3 separate regions of the Homo sapiens genome follow, and all the other regions are linked to region 3. The links are contacts of gene promoters, found by promoter capture Hi-C in human tissues and cell types (Jung and others, 2019). All regions are on one chromosome and are shown on one strand. The core of a region is centred on a gene start or on the middle of the fragment in contact, and the rest is flanking DNA. Distances in the headings are between cores, read along the strand shown. Region 1 overlaps LINC02858 (long intergenic non-protein coding RNA 2858). Region 2 overlaps SYT17 (synaptotagmin 17). Region 3 holds the start of CLEC19A (C-type lectin domain containing 19A).

The links. Contacts are between HindIII fragments. The study calls those that stand out against the background at their distance.
Region 1: a contact is called between a fragment that was not itself captured here and the fragment with the promoter of CLEC19A in region 3, in 1 of the 25 tissues and cell types used here (H1 embryonic stem cells).
Region 2: a fragment that was not itself captured here is called in contact with the fragment with the promoter of CLEC19A in region 3 in 1 of the 25 tissues and cell types used here (H1 embryonic stem cells).

The regions. Positions count from the first base shown.
Region 1 is chr16:19,337,173-19,340,610 of GRCh38, forward strand. LINC02858 (long intergenic non-protein coding RNA 2858) reads left to right here. Exons shown (of 3, transcript XR_950883.3): 3 at 1-627. Among named protein-coding and RNA genes, the nearest start is that of LINC02858, 4.7 kb to the left of the region's middle. The HindIII fragment of the contact is 5,111 bases long and covers 1-3,438 here.
Region 2 is chr16:19,249,932-19,253,644 of GRCh38, forward strand. The region is part of intron 7 of SYT17 (synaptotagmin 17); the gene reads left to right. Among named protein-coding and RNA genes, the nearest start is that of CLEC19A, 34 kb to the right of the region's middle. The HindIII fragment of the contact is 4,591 bases long and covers 1-3,713 here.
Region 3 is chr16:19,283,624-19,287,238 of GRCh38, forward strand. It overlaps CLEC19A (C-type lectin domain containing 19A), which reads left to right and starts at 2,108. Exons shown (of 5, transcript NM_001256720.2): 1 at 2,108-2,316. The coding sequence starts at 2,229. The HindIII fragment of the contact is 9,003 bases long and covers 810-3,615 here.

The DNA of each region.
Region 1 (3,438 bases), core at 230-2,729, 53 kb after region 3:
CTCCATCCTGCTGGAGAGTTCCAATGACCTATGGCATGAATACTCCAGACAAAGTGTTCCAGCCTTCCCCAGAAACCTCAAAAGTCTCTCAGGCACTCCAAGACTTCCAAGGCCAAAAAACTCAAGATGTCTTTAAACAAGACCAAAGACCCCCTCAGGAATCTGGCCAAGAAGCCCCCCAAGAAGGCTAGGCCCAGCACTTTTGAGCCTAGATCTTTCTACTGCCTTGACCTCTGCCCCCTCCCACCAGAGCAGCTACAGGCCCCAGAGCCCCAGTTACCCTTATCAATCTCAGAGGCCACAGATGTCTATCTCCCTGAGGATTTCCCAGCTGAGCCCAAGCTCATGGACCAGTCCTGGGTGTCCAGGAAGAGCCTGAAACCATCCAAGAGTCATCTTATGGAGCCACCCACTCCAGTGGCCAAGCACCAAAAGGCAAAGACCCGACATAGGAGTGAGAAGAAACAAAACAAATAAATGCTTGGCATCTCCATCGACCTGGTCCTTTTCAGCCCAGACCTATCAGCTCCAGACATCCCAAAACATCACCCTATTCCAGAGGCCACAGAATTCATGATTCCAGATAATTCGTGTTAGTCTTTGCTATTCAATAAACTCCTGGCTGCAGCTTCTACTTCCTGTATCAAAGCTAAGGCTCACAGTTGAGCAGGTTGTGCACTGCACCATGTTAGCCCTGGTACAGTACACAACCTGCCCAACTGTGAAAAACTGGCCCTTAGACTGACCCAGAGTCTCAGTCTAAAGGGGCACTGTTTACATCACTGCATTATAGATTTGTGTACTGTACTTACTTTGGCAATTTTCAGCAGATGGCAGTAAAGTGTCTTGAAGAAGGGGAGGTTTTACTAATTTAAAAAAAGGCACCAAAATGGCTACTGGTGACCCTGCCAAATACCTTCCTGGGTGGGAAAATGAGGCCCCAAGTTGGATCTTTGGCAGAATAATATGGTTAAGAGCTCATGCTCTGGTGCCAGAAAGACTGGGGTTGCATCCCTGCTCTGCCATTGAAACTGGCTACCTGACCTAGACAAGTGATTCTAAGTTATTTGAGACTCAGTTTGCCCATGTGCAAAATGGGGATAATAATAAGACCTCAAAATGTTGTTGAAGGGGCAAAATGGGATAAGCCATTTAGCCCAGTGATTGGCACATAGTAGGTGTTCAAGGAGCCCCTGCGAATAGTAGACACTTAGACCTCTACTGCTTTATCTCCACAAACCAGCAAGCAGGCTCCCTCCAGGAAATGATCCTTGGCTTTGCACTAACCACATGGCTTAAAAGGGACCTGCTCCCTTCTTTCAGAGCCTTTCCCTTGACGCCCATTGATTGGCCTGGAGGTGTCACCTGACCTAAGCTAAGCCAATCAGGGGACTTTCCTGCATTTTTCAATTTAGTATCCAAGGGAACAAGGTTCAGTGCTTAGCAGGGGATGAAGCTGAGACAGGTGGCTCGAGAGGAGGTGACAGGAGCTGCACTGAGGAGCTCAGCTACCATGAGGAAGATAAGGATCTGGAAGAAAGAAGCCAGTAGGAGGGAGAGGGGCTGGGAAGACAGAAAGAGTGAGTCGCCTGGTGACATCTGAGTCCCTGAGACCCAGAGTGATACTTGCCTTCCCCACACTTATGCCACAACTTGGAGCAATCTTTTTTTTTTTTTTTTTTTTTTTACAGGGTTCCTGTCACCCAGGCTGGAGTGCAGTGGCATAATCATAGCTTACTGCAGCCTTGACCTCTCAGGCTCAGATGATCCTCCCATCTCAGCCTCCTGAGTAGCTGGAATCACAGGCACACATCACCATGCCTGGCATATTTTTTTGTAGAGACAGGGTCTTGCTCTGTTGCCCAGGCTGGTCTTGAATTCCTGACCTCACAGAATCCTCCTGCTTTGGCCTCTCAAAGTGTTGGGATTATAAGGATGAGACACCATGCCTAGCCTGGACCAATCTTTATATTTGGATCAGACCTGATCACTTTACCCTAACAGGCAAAAATCTTCAATAGCTCCCCATGGCCCACCAGATAAAAACAGGGATTTTCTCATGCTGGTAGTCAAACATCTCTAGAATCTGGCTTCAACCCACCTTTCAAGCTTCATCTCCCTCTCTTGCTTGGTCAACTGGATGTTCCTTCACTCTCCAACTTGTGTGACTTTCTTCCTGTCTTTCCTCGTCTAGAATAGCTCTCTTCCCATTACTCCTAGTGGACTTTGGGTAGTGCTGGCCCTACAACCTCTAATTCTCCCTTCATCTGGTACGGTGTTCTGACTTCCTCTAGGGAAATCTCTCTTTTTTTCTTTTGTAGACAGTGTCTCACTCTGTTTCCCAGGCTGGAATGCAGTGGTGTGATCAAGGTTCACTGCAGCTTCGACCTCCTGGGCTCAAGTGATCCTCCCGCCTTAGCCTCCCAAGTAGCTGGGGCTACAGGCATGTGCCACTGTGCCTGACTAATTTTTTAATTTTTTTGTAAAGACAGCATCTTGCTCGTTTGCCCAGGCTGGGCTCAAACTCCTGGGCTCAAGTGATCCTCCCATCTTGGCCTGGGATTACTGGTGTGAGCCACCACGCCTGACCTGGGGAATCTCTTTACCCAACTAGAGATGGATTTCATGGTGTCTTTTCCTGGTCACATGGCCCAAGTAAGGACAGTTGGTTGCTCACTCTTGGGACTTGGAATCTTGAGTAGAGGACACACCACTACCAACAACAAAATGGTTTGAACTGACAAGACTCCTGATGAGTTCCATCTAAGGCTATACACAGATCTCTCCTCCTCTCAGCCCTCACCTTTAAAAAAAAATAATTCCTTAGTCTTCCTTAGTCTTCTGTGATATTACAGTTTTATATATGTTGGTTTTCATCCACAGCTCCTGGGTCATAACTCCCATAGTCCTTGTTACAATGTTGGGTGCTTTAGGTTTTAGGAGGCAGAATCTTTCTCTGATCTTCTCCTGTCCTCTTTTTTTTTTTGTCTTCCTCTGTCCCCTAGACTGGAGTGCAGTGGTGCAATCTCAGCTCACTACGAACTCTGCCTCCCAGGTTCAAGTGATTCTCCTGCCTCAGCCTCCCGAGTAGCTGGGACTACAGGTGTGTGCCACCATGCCCAGCTAATTTTTTGTATTTTTAGTAGAGATGGTGTTTCACCGTGTTAGCCAGGATGGTCTGAATCTTCTGACCTCATGATCCACCTGCCTTGGCCTCCCAAAGTACTGGGATTACAGGTGTGAGCCACCGCGCCTGGCCTCCTGTCCTCCTTTTACCTGATAAGGTAGGACTCTAATCTGATTGTGGTCAAAAGACCTTCATTCCAGAGTGGGTCCTGCCCCGTACCCTAGAGGAAGGAATGCTACACAGAGGGGCCAAGAAGTCTGAGCAGACAGGCCTTGCTGGGTATAGATCATGCACTTTTGTCTAATCACATT
Region 2 (3,713 bases), core at 865-3,364, 34 kb before region 3:
TTGCTCTAGGATCCAACAGCCCCATACCAGCCTGCGAACTGAGTAGTCACCCAGCTCATGGTATCAGTCCTTGGATACCCTCACCTGGAAATGAACATTTCCATGGCATAAAGAAGCAAGTAAAGGCAATAAAAGTAGAATGATTGAGTTGGTTGTGTGTCTGGTTGCTTTTATTTTAAAGGCTTTGGTTTAACATTTTATTTAAAAATTTTTTAACATATTGAAAGAATTGTCCCATGAACACCCATATTTCTACCCATCAGATTCTGTAATGAACATTTTGCTGTTTGCTTTATCACACATCTATCCAACTCTCTCTCTCGACTCATATTTTTATCATACATTTCAAAGTCAGTTGCTGATGTTAATCCCATTTCAATGTGGGGCAGACTCTCGGGGTAATTTCAAAAAGATGTCTCAAACATGTTTGTGTGTGTGTGTGTGTGTGTGTGTGTGTGTGTGTGTGTGTGTGTTTGGAGACAGGGTCTCACTCTATTGCCCAGGCTGGAGTGCAGTGGTGCCATCATGGCTCACTGCAGTCTCGACCTCCCAGACTTAAGCAATCCTTCCCAAATAGCTGGGACTCCAGGGGCACCCCACTACATTCAGCTAATTTTAAATCTTTTTTGTAAAGGTCTTGCTGTGTTCCCAGGGCTGGTCTCGAACTCCTGGGCTCAAGTGATCCTCTTGCCTCAGCCTCCCATAGTGTTGGGATTACAGGCATGACCTTGCCTCAGCCTCCCACAGTGCTGGGATTACAGGCGTGAACCACCATGCGTGGCCCCATTAGTTCTTTTTTTAAGGTGACTTTTTATTGAAGTCCAACACACATACAGAAAGGTGCATCAATTCATGAATTTATACAAAATTAACGATCCCATGTGACCAGTACTCAGATTAAGAACCAGAAACATTCTCAGAAATTCCCTCATAGCCCATGTCAGTTACTTCCCCCTCCCCCAGGGCAGCCATCATCCTGACCTTTCCTGCCATATATTCATTTTGCCTCTTTTTGACCTTTATGTAAATGGGATCACACCCCTTCCTTCATTCAGCATTATCTTCGTGAAATTTGTGTCATTGTGTGTAGATGTCATTTTTCTATTCACATTTTGAGGATAATAGTGTTTCAGAGTGTCACTATACCACAATTTACATATCCATTCTAGTAATAGGGTGATTTTTAAAACATGCTAGAATTTGCCCATCAAAACAGGTGGCATTTCTTTCAGAGCATAATTTGGGATGCCGCATATGCCAAGAGCTGAGGTTAGGAGTTGCAACTCACTCATAAAAGGTCATCAGGACCCGAATTCAAATCCCGCTCTACCACTGGACCACAGGCTGGGTCCCAGGTGGGCCTCCTCCTGTCACTGGGATTTGACACCTTGTCTTGCACAAGGATTCCAGACACATGCCACATTAACCCACAGTATAGGTTAAGGAATAGACTCTGTTGGGGAATAAGGAAAAGGCCTGTAGGACAGGCATTGGCAAGAAAGGAAGAAGCTTGAATTCCCTCTCCGTAACCACCATCCTTTGGAGAGATGCTGCAGGTCTGTGGTGTGTGTCTGAGTTCTAGGGCCAGGACTTTGTGCCCACCATCCCACCATTTTATAGCGCAAGCGTGAGCAGGCAACCTTGTCAGTGGGGGCAGGTGGGTTAGCACCAGTGACCAGAGACCTTAGGGCCCATGGGAAGTGACAGCTTCCTCTTCCCAGGGGAGGAAGCCACCAGGGTGGGAGGAAAGCTGGTCCCAGACAGTTCGTGGTCCAGATGTTTCGCCTAAGCTCCTAGAGCCTCTTTTGGACAATTCTGCTCATTGTACTTACACCCTGAGCCTCCATCTATTTCTCTGGAAAGTGGGAGCATCTCACAACCTTCTTCCTAGACTGCTGTGAGGGTGGAAAGGGATTGCGCATACACAGGGCCACACGGTCTCTACATGTGGCCTATTGATCTTTAAGGGATGTTACCGCTGTTCAAAACATGTTTGAGCTGAGTGTAGTGGCTCACACCTGTAATCCCAGCACTTTGGGAGGCCGAGGCAGGCAGATCATTTGAGGTCAGGAGTTCGAGAGCAGCCTGCCTAACATGGCAAAACCCCGTCTCCACTAAAAATACAAAAATTAGCTGGAGGTGCTTGCTTGAACCCAGGAGGCGGAAATTGCAGTGAGCTGACATCATGCCACTGCACTCCAGCCTGGGCGACAGAGCAAAACTGTCTCAAAACAAAACAAAACAAAAAAACCATGTTTGAGACGTCTTTTTGAAATGACCTCAAGAAACTGCCCCACATTGAAAGAAAACATAAATGTTGCAGAATTCTTCATCCTTTGAAATGAAACACATATGTTTTTGTTTGTTTGTTTTGAGACAGGGTCTCACTCTGTCACCCAGGCTGCAGTGCGGTGCTGCCATATACACATATATATATACATATATATACATATATATATATACATATATATACATATATATATACATATATATATACATATATATACATATATATACACATATATACATATATATATACATATATATATACATATATATATACATATATATATACATATATATATACATATATATATACATATATATATTTTTTTTTAAATAACTTGAGGTCATGGAAAGCTGAATGGTTCATCTAGATTAAGCTCAGCAGCACCTTAAAAAAATTAGAAATGAAGCATCATTCTAAAGAAATGAGGCTGATTTCTTTGGATGTTTTGAAGAGGATTCTATTCCTCAACTTAATGTTTGCATGAGGCACTTACCCTAAGCCAGTGAATCTCAAACCCGGCTACACATTAGGGTCACTGGGAAAACTTTAAAAAGCTGGGATGGATGTTTGGGTGCCACCTCCAGAGACTGTGTCAATTGGCCAGGAAGATCCCCTCCCCCATCACTATAGTCTAAAAAGCTCCCTAGGTGGTTATGTGTAGTCCTGCTAAACTCCAGCGTGCATCAGAATCACCCAGAGATTTGTTAAAACAGACTGCTGAGCCCCTGCCCAAGAGTTTCTGATTCAGTATAGCTGTGTGGGCTTGAGAATTCGCATTTCTAACAGGTTTCCAGGTGATGCTGCTACTGCTGGTGTGGAGACCACACTTCGGGAACCACTGCTTTAGACAGACCAGAGGTCAGCAAACTACAGCCCACTTCCTGATTTTGTAAATAAAGTTTTATTGGAATACAGCCATGTGCATTCATCAACATGCTGTTTGTGGCTGCTTTCTGCTAGTGCAGCAAAGTTGAATGCTTCCAATAGAGGCCATAGGTGGCCCTCAAAGCCTAAAATATTTACTCTCTGGCCCTTTATAGAAAAAGTATGTTGGCCTGGTATGGTGGCTCATGCTTGTAATCCCAAGACTTTGGGAGGCCGAGGTGGGAGGACAGCATGAGCTCAGGAGTTCAAGATAAGCCTGGGCAGCAAAGTGAGACCCTGAATATTAAAAAAAAAATTTTTTAAAATAGTTTTTAATTAGCTAAGTGTGGTTGTGTGTGCCTGTAGTCCCAGGTCCTTGGGAGGCTGAGGCAGGCAGGTCCCAGAAAGAAGAGGAGAGCAAGAAGACCTTTAACAACTTAGTCCCATCCCACAGAGATTGGAAACTCTAGATTGAGCCTGGGAGTTTGAGATTGCAGTGAGCTATGATAATGTCACTGCACTCCAGCCTGGGCAATGGAGCAAGACCCTGCTTCTTAAG
Region 3 (3,615 bases), core at 858-3,357:
AAAACAACTCACAACTTTGTTACGTAAAAGTTGAACTAGACTGGTCCGATGAGGTTACAGGACTTTTAAGAGGTGTCTGGGTTATAAGAGCTCTTCCCTCATACATGGATCAAAGATGTTATCACAAGAGTAGCTCAGGTATGGCAGGAGTGGGTTCATCCCCTCTTTAAAAAGCTCTGTCTCTCTCTCTCTGTGACTCATCTCTCTTTTACCCTCTCACTATCCACCATATGATGACTCAGCAAGAAAGCCCTCACCAGATGCCAACACCTTGATCTTGGCCTTCCCTGTCTCTAGAACTGTGAACCAATAAATTCTGTTCATTATAAATTACCAGTCTCAGGTGTTCTAGTATAGCAGCACAAAACAGACTAAGATAGACACTTTTAAATTCCAAGCAGCACCCAGGAACATGACAGCAGGAGCCCCCAAATTTCAGCTTGCAAGATGATAGGGAGTAGGGAGAAAATATCCAAACTTTCTTCCACATTTATATCTTTTATCAACCTTTAATAATGTCCAATGTGGGTGTGTGTGTTTTATAACAGAAATAATATATTAGTACAGTGAGTCGTACCTGCACATCACTTATAAACATGTAATAAATATATCCCATTTATAAATAAGTAAGTGTGCATGCTCTGGGATATGCACCAGTACACTAGTTTTGAGGCAACAGATCTACCCGAGGAGGCATCCTGTAGGTTGAAGCTGAGCCTGAGCTGTGCTCATATTCTGAGTCAGACCTTGGCAGACTTTCAGCTCCAGTGCCAGCAGGCAAGGCAAGCTGTGTGGGCACAAGTTAAGTTATTTCTCACAAGCACAGCAGCAGGTGTTCCAGAAAGACTTGGAAGCCAAACAGACACATTCCAGTCCCTGTGAGTGCCAGCCACATGAGGTGTCAGGGCACCTGGCAGAGCATTTCTGGAGAGGAATAAGGGAGTGCAGGGGCAGGGGATGTGGGTGATGCCAAGGAAAGCCTTGCACTAGATCAATGACAACAATAGCAAATGTTGCTGTCATTTATTGAGCACCTACTACTTGCCAGCATCTATGCCAAGTTTTAGAAACAAATTACTTCATTTAATCCTTGTGAGGTAGGTACTCTACTTATCCCCCATTTTACAGAGGAGGCAACTGAGGTTCAGAGAGGCAAAGTGACTTGTCTAAGGACACAGAAAGTGGGGGAGAAAGACTGTGGTTTTTAGAAATATTGATTCTCCAAAAGAGCGATGAGATCCCAATGAAAACACTAGGGGTTTTTAAACATTGAATTCTGAGCAAGCCACACAGTAGAGCTATGCACTAGTGATGACACTTGCACCTCTTTGTGGAGCACTTATTCTGTGCAACACTCTGTTGAATCTTCTACAGATGCCTCCTTTAACCCCCGGAGGAACCCTGAGAGACCCTGAGAGGTGAAGGGAGAGGAAAGGAGGCTGACTCACACAGGCTTCCTGGTGCTTCCTCAGCGGTGGATGCTGTCAGGATCAGACCCATGGGGTGGAGACCTTGGTGAACCGAAGCTCAAAGAGCCTGGCTGAAAGAGATGCTCTTTCTCAGCTCCATGCAATTGTTGCCCTGTAGAAATGAGGGCTATGTTTCGTTAGGTCTTCCGATTTTCCAATAGAAGGCAGAAATCCGGACTTATACCTAGCATCTCTTGGTTTTATACCTTAACAAATTTTTTAGAATTTAAAACTCTGCAGACCAAACAAATGACATCCATGGCCCAGGAGACCTCTGCGCTCAATGCTTACTTGCAGTAATTTTACCTTCCAGTACATATCTACTCTGAGGGAGGTGAGATGCTTTGTCTCCTGTGACAGGCTGGAATGTGAGTTTCGTTACCATCCCATTTTACAGAGGGGGAAACTGAGTCTCAGAGAAGTGCACACCCAAGGCCACAGCGTGACTCAGAGACAAGACTGAGAGCTAAATTTTGTCTTGGTTCAGAGGCAAGCTTGGGAGCTAAAATGTCTCTTGGTTCTTTGAGGGGGGCTGGCCTAGGCTGCTTTGCTTTCAGCTGTCATTCTGAGCTGTCTCCAACAGTGTGAAGAGGAGGGAGGAGAAAAGGAAGAAAAGAGGAGGGGACTGGAGTCCATCCAGTCTGTCCCAGCTCCTGCCAGGCTCCATCTGACCCTAGGAGAGCAATCCTGGACCCAAGCTCCAGCCAAAAAGCCTCTCTCCTCCACTCAGGCTGGGAGGTTGCTTTCTAGGAGCTCAGGATGCAAAGGTGGACACTGTGGGCTGCAGCCTTCCTGACCCTCCACTCTGCACAGGCCTTTCCACAAACAGACATCAGTATCAGTCCAGGTAAGTGCAGGGACCAGGGCTGGGAGCAGGTGGAGAGGAGTACACTCTCAGGAACTTATTCTATCGGTGAGGCCTGGCAGCTTCTGTTGGGGGGTTGGGGTGGCCTGACCCGAGTCTCCTGACAGCTTTCCCCCTACCAGCTTTGTCATGGGCACTCTTCTAGGCCCAGACACAAAAAGTCCTGGGTTTGAATCCCAGTTTTGCAGTTTACAAGCTGTGTGACATAGAGGAAGTTTCTTGATCTCTCTGAGCCTCAGCTTCTTCTAGAAAGTTGGGTCGCAATGGCATTCTCTTTGGGCTACTGTGCAAGGCAGATAAGATAACATGAGGAAAGTGCTTTGCACAGTGTCTGGCACTACAGGAAGATCTGAACATGGTAGTTTTGTGAGGGATTTGGCATCTGGGCCCCAACCCCACCTTGGCTGTGACAGCCTTCCCAGGGAGCTTTCAGAGCTGCTGCAGTGCCACCAGAGGTTAGGTGCGCAGGGAGGGAGACTTGTCCCTCTAATGGCCTCCCTGGAGGCCTGGCCCAGCAACCCCCAGCCTTGTGGGGCATCCCCAGGGATGAGAACCTGTCAGCCTTGGGCATGTGGCCTCCCAGTGTCCCATATGGAGGGTGAGGGTCTTCAAATGAGCTCAACTTCTTCCACTTTGCAATAGGAAGGCTGGGTTACTGATTCTGGGGGACCCTCATCTGGATGAGAAGAGTTCTGAATCCTATAATTTGGTGGCCAAGAGTCTTGACTGTCACCTCTACCAGGTTCTTTCCAGGCTTGTTTATGTTCATATATGGATTTATTTATCATAGCAGTGGCAGAGATATCATTTTTAAATCCCCGTTCAAGTAAAACTAATAATGAAATACCTAGATGGAGATTCTCATAAGGCCAAATTATTGGGTTGTGATAGTGTTAGAGTGACTTTAAACAGAGGGTTGATAGGGTTGTCAGATAAAATACCAATAAATAAATATTAATAAATTATTTCTTAGTGTAAGCATGCCCCAAATATTACATGGGACGTATTTATACTAAAAATTATCTGTTTGTTTACCTGAAATCAAATTTAACTAGGTATCCTTCTTTTTTTTTTTTTTTTTTGTTAATCTAGCATCCCTAGTGGTAACAATAAGGGATAGTCTTAGCTCATTTGGGCAAGGGGTTTCAGTTCTGTCCTAAACTCTCTGAGTGTATTCATCAGCTCAGGCTGCGAATATCACAGACTGGGGAGCTTAAGCAACAAACATTTATTTCTCACAGTTCTGGAGGCTGGGAAGTTCAAGATCAGGATGCCAGCAGA